Linked DNA regions of Homo sapiens: region 1 is linked to region 2. Evidence: promoter capture Hi-C in human tissues and cell types (Jung and others, 2019). All regions are on one chromosome and are shown on one strand. Each heading gives the region's core, a stretch centred on a gene start or on the middle of the fragment in contact. The rest is flanking DNA. Distances are from core to core; before and after follow the strand shown.

Evidence for each region. Contacts are between HindIII fragments. The study calls those that stand out against the background at their distance.
Region 1: a fragment that was not itself captured here is called in contact with the fragment with the promoter of ZMYND11 in region 2 in 1 of the 25 tissues and cell types used here (dorsolateral prefrontal cortex).

Annotation. Positions count from the first base shown.
Region 1 is chr10:263,673-266,372 of GRCh38, reverse strand. The region is part of intron 1 of LOC107984191 (a long non-coding RNA gene); the gene reads left to right. Among named protein-coding and RNA genes, the nearest start is that of ZMYND11, 130 kb to the right of the region's middle. RefSeq lists an enhancer at 906-2,105. The HindIII fragment of the contact is 8,284 bases long and covers 1-2,700 here.
Region 2 is chr10:134,203-136,902 of GRCh38, reverse strand. It overlaps ZMYND11 (zinc finger MYND-type containing 11), which reads right to left and starts at 1,448. Exons shown (of 15, transcript NM_001370100.5): 1 at 1,344-1,448. RefSeq lists silencers at 2,021-2,199, 647-2,206. The HindIII fragment of the contact is 15,828 bases long and covers 1-2,700 here.

The sequences.
Region 1 (2,700 bases), core at 167-2,666, 130 kb before region 2:
TAGTATTCCATGGTGTATATGTGCCACATTTTCTTAATCCAGTCTGTCATTCATGGACATTTGGGTTGGTTCCAAGTCTTTGCTATTGTGAATAGTGCTGCAATAAACATACGTGTGCATGTGTCTTTATAGCAGCATGATTTATAATCCTTTGGGTATATACCCAGTAATGAGATGGCTGGGCAAATGATATTTCTAGTTCTAGATCCCTGAGGAATCGCCACACTGTCTTCCACAGTGGTTGAACTAGTTTACAGTCCCACCAACAGTGTAAAAGTGTTCCTATTTCTCCACATCCTCTCCAGCACCTGTTGTTTCCTGACGTTTTAATGATTGCCATTCTAACTGGTGTGAGATGGTATCTCATTGTGGTTTTGATTTGCATTTCTCTGATAGCCAGTGATGGTGAGCATTTTTTCATGTGTCTTTTGGCTGCATAAATGTCTTCTTTTGAGAAGTGTCTGCTCATATCCTTTGCCCACTTGTTGATGGGGTTGTTTTTTCCTTGTAAGTTAAGTTTGTTTGAGTTCTTTGTAGATTCTGGATATTAGCCCTTTGTCAGATGAGTAGATTGCAAAAATTTTCTCCTATTCTGTAGGTTGCCTCTTCACTCTGATGGTAGTTTCTTTTGCTGTGCAGAAGCTCTTTAGTTTAATTAGACCTCATTTATCATTTTTGGGTTTTGTTGCCATTGCTTTTGGTGTTTTAGACATGAAGTCCTTGCCCACGCCTATATCCTGAATGATACTGCCTAGGTTTTCTTCTAGGGATTTTATGGTTTTAGGTCTAAATTTAAGTCTTCAATCCATCTTGAATTAATTTTTGTATAAGGTGTAAGGAAGAGATCCAGTTTCAGCTTTCTACATATGGCTGAGAAAAGAACTTTTATCTCAGGAGTATGAATCCTTTTAAACTATTAGGTCCAGAGAGACAGTAAAATCAGGCAGCAGTCACATCACATACACCCCTTGACCTTATGCGTGCATCTCTTGAAACTGCTTGCTGCTGCTACAAGTAGCTATGAATCAATGTAGTGATACCACGTCAGACACTGTACCCCGTGCCCTGTACCCTACAGTTATGAGTCAACCTAGTGACATACACTGGACACCATACCCCATGCCCTGTACCCTATAGCTGTGAGTCAACCTAGTGACATGCACCGGACACTGTACCCCATGCCCTGTACCCTACAGCTGTGAGTCAACCTAGTGACATGCACCAGACACCTTACCCCATACCCTGTACCCTACAGTTGAGTCAATCTAGTGACATGCACCGGATGCCGTACTCCATGCCCTGTACCCTACAGTTATGAGTCAACCTAGTGACATACACTGGACACCGTACCCCATGCCCTGTACCCTACAGTTATGAGTCAACCTAGTGACATACACCGGACACCATACCCCATGCCCTGTACCCTACAGCTGTGAGTCAACCTAGTGACATGCACCAGACACCGTACCCCATGCCCTGTACCCTACAGCTGTGAGTCAACCTAGTGACATGCACCGGACACCATACCCCATACCCTGTACCCTACAGCTGTGAGTCAACCTAGTGACATGCACCAGACACCTTACCCCATGCCCTGTACCCTACAGCTGTGAGTCAACCTAGTGACATGCACCAGACACCTTACCCCATACCCTGTACCCTACAGTTGAGTCAATCTAGTGACATGCACCGGATGCCGTACTCCATGCCCTGTACCCTACAGTTATGAGTCAACCTAGTGACATACATTGGACACCGTACTCCATGCCCTGTACCCTACAGTTATGAGTCAACCTAGTGACATACATTGGACACCGTACTCCATGCCCTGTACCCTACAGTTATGAGTCAACCTAGTGACATACACTGGACACCGTACCCCATGCCCTGTACCCTACAGCTGTGAGTCAACCTAGTAACATGCACCAGACACCTTACCCCATACCTTGTACCCTACAGTTATGAGTCAACCTAGTGACATACACTGGACACTGTACCCCATGCCATGTACCCTCCAGTTATGAATCAACCTAGTGACATCCACTGGACTCCATACCCCATGCCCTGAACCCTACAGGTATGAGTCAGCCTAATGATGCCACACCAGATGCTGTTACTGGCATCCTATAGGTTAATAATGTACAGCCAATCACTCGGCACTGTTGTTTCTGTAAACCGACAAGAATTCCTGACAGTCAACTTGCTGTCAGCCCACTCCTCATCCTCTTCTTTTGCCTTTAAAAACCCACTTGTGGCCAGGCGTGGTGGCTCACACCTGTAATCCCAGCACTTTGGGAGGCCGAGTTGGGCGGATCACCTGAGGTCAGGAGTTCAAGACCAGCTTGGCCAACATGATGAAACCCTATCTCTACTAAAAATACAAAAGTTAGCCAGGCATAGTGGCATGTGCCTGTAATCCCAGCCACCTGGGAGGCTGAGTCAGGAGCATTGCTTGAACCCAGGAATTGGAGGTTTCAGTGAGCCGAGATTGCGCCACTGTACTCTAGCCTGGGTGACAGAGTGAGACTCCATCTCAAAATCAACAACAAAAAAATAAAAAAATAACCCCACTTGTAACTGCTGCTTCTCAGAGCATATATTATCAGAGCATATACTCAGGGCAACTTGAATCTCTGCTCCCAGCTGCAATCCTCAAGCTTGGCCCAAATAAACTGCCTACTTATATTAACTTTGCCTCGG
Region 2 (2,700 bases), core at 199-2,698:
ATACACACCGCATATGGCAGCACGGTACCGTGCACATACTGCACAAAATACCGGGAACCGCGTAAGGGCTGTATATGACACTGGGTGCTGCATACACAGTGTGAAAGGATACTATGTACACACCATATATGACCCCAAGTACTGTGTGCACACAGTATATGACACCTGGTACTATACACACCGCATATATGACACCAGGTACTACATACACACTGTATGTGACAACAGGTAAGGTAAATATATTCAATACTATCCAGATACTACATACACTCGTATATAACATGGAGTACCACACGCACAGCTCATATGGCAGCAGGGTACCAGGCACCTACTGCACACAATACCGGGGGCTGAGTGCACAGCCTAAGCGAGGAAGATACATGTACACACCGTGTATGATAGCCGGTACGACACCGGGTACTTCGAGCACACTGCATATGACACAGAGTACACACCATATATAATCCCCGGTACTGCGTACCCACCGCATAGGACACCGCACTGCACAACGAGCACTGGTACACACGAATAAAACAGGTACGGCGGTCACTCTGCAAAAGACACCGGGCACGGCGCACACATCGCCAGCTCCTCCTCCTCCCGGCTCGGGAGAAAAGCGCGAGGAGAGACTGCAAGTGAAAGTCCGGGTCCCGGCGCCCCCCCTCGTCCCAGCCGCGTCCTCAGCAGCTTCTCCCCGGAGCTCTGGGTGGGAGGAGGGCGGCGGACCCCACAGGACTGTCCCGGAGGTCCGCGAGGACCTGTTGAGGCGGCGGCCTCGCTGCCGGGGTCGCTCACAGCCCCGGGGGACCGACGAATCTCCGCCCCGGGCCTCGGGGCCAGCCCTGCCCGCCGCTCCCGGGCTAGCACACGACGTGCCGCGCCGACAAACGCTTCCTCTCCGCCCGCCACACGCCCGGAGCCGCGTTCCCCGCCGGCCCGGACTGCGCACGGGCCCAGGAGGCCTGACCGAAAGCGGGGCACAGGGCCCGGCGGGCGGTGCTCACGCGACTCCGCGGCTTCCCGGCCCGAGCAGGCCCCGCGCGGTCCTCCGGGGCCTCATCCCGGGGCCTCTTCCGCGGCCGCCCAAGGCGAGTGGGCGCGGGCCGGCAGCCTCCGCAGGCCCCGCCGCCGCCCTCGCAGGCCCCGCCGGCCCGGCCCGCCCCGCCATCCACAAAGCTCCCCGGCAGCTCGGAGCTCTTCGCGAGCGGGCGAGCGACCGTCAGCACCCACTGGTGCCGCCGCCGCCCCAGAGGCCGCGGCCAGGCAGGCTCCACCGCGCGGGCCGCGCCATCTCCACGGACGCCCCCGCCCGCCCCGCCGCCCCGCCGCCGAGCTTTCCCCACCATTATGCTCCGGCTCCTCCACCGCCGCCGCCGCCGCGCCCGGCCCTCCCCTCCGGTGCCGCCTCCTTCCCGCCGCCCGGCGCCTCTCGGGCCTGAGCCGGCGACGGGCGCGGGGGGCGGGGGGGACGCTCAGGCCGCCTCCTCCTCCTCCCTGCCGGCCTCCTCCCTCCTCCCCGGCTCCCCCCCGCCCGGACCCCGCCGCCGGCTCCGCGCGAAGGGCTCCGGGCTCGAGGGGCGCCATGTTTGTAATACTCCACCTCAGAGAACGCCGCGGTCGCGCCTGAGCGAGGGAGGCTAGGCGGCCGGGTCGCCGCGTGCGGGGTGAGGGCCGGGAGGGCACCGCCGCCCGCACTTACTCGCGTCTTCCCCTGGCGCCGCGGGCCTGCGGGGCCGGAGCGGGCGGCGGGAAGTTGGGCGCCGCCGCCCGGGAAAGTTGGGTCCCCGCGAAGCCGCGGCAGCCGCTCACATGGCGATGCGCGCGGGGCGGCCGCTCGGCCCCACCGGCCCCTCGGCCCGCCCGCCCTCGGAGTTTATTGTGTCGGGTCGAGGCGCCCCGCGGCCGGGCCGCGCACTGGGGGCTCTAGCGGCTGGCGCCGGACTTGCGCGCGGCCGGCCCGGCTCGCGGCCGCCTCCCGCCCGGGGCCGGAGCCGTGCACGCGGCTCCTACCTTCCCCACGTCCTGTCTTCGGCGCCTCTATCCGAAATTTGTTGGAGCATATTCCTCTGTCTCCACACATGCACTCCGTATCCACACACACGTGAAGGCTACGTACGTGCAGGCGCGCTGGAGCCGGGAGCGGGCGCCGAGGCCGGGGCGCGAGGGGGCATTGTCAGGCGCCGCCGCAGCTCAGCCCCGGGTGGACCCGGTGCCTGCCCCTGGCTCGCGGGGTCCGGAACAGCGAAGTCTGAGAAGTACGAGTGCTTCTCTTAACAACATTGTTTAGGTAGTCTGAACAGCCCTTTACTCCTGTCATCAAAAAGAGCGGTAGGGATACGCTAAGTTCCCCGTTTCATCTCTGCGCAAACAGGACCGCGAAAAGAACAGGACCACCCATCAGCAGCCCTGCAAGAACACTGCAGATTTGCGCGAGAAGTAGGTTATCTTCTATGGAGAGGAATTCTAGACCTAATCAGAGACGATCCCTTAAGACTCTGGTTTAAGAAAGGTTCGGAGATAAGCATACTTTGATAGCGTTCACCTGTTTTCCCTGAGGACCTTTCGCCACTGGGAGTCGGGGAACACCTGTCAGTCAGAGTCCTCTGCTCTGAAATTCGGTGAGTACAGGACAGCAAGGTGTTTTCAGGGAGACCGCATTCTCATAACTTTTACTACAGTATAGTGTTATAATTGTTCTGG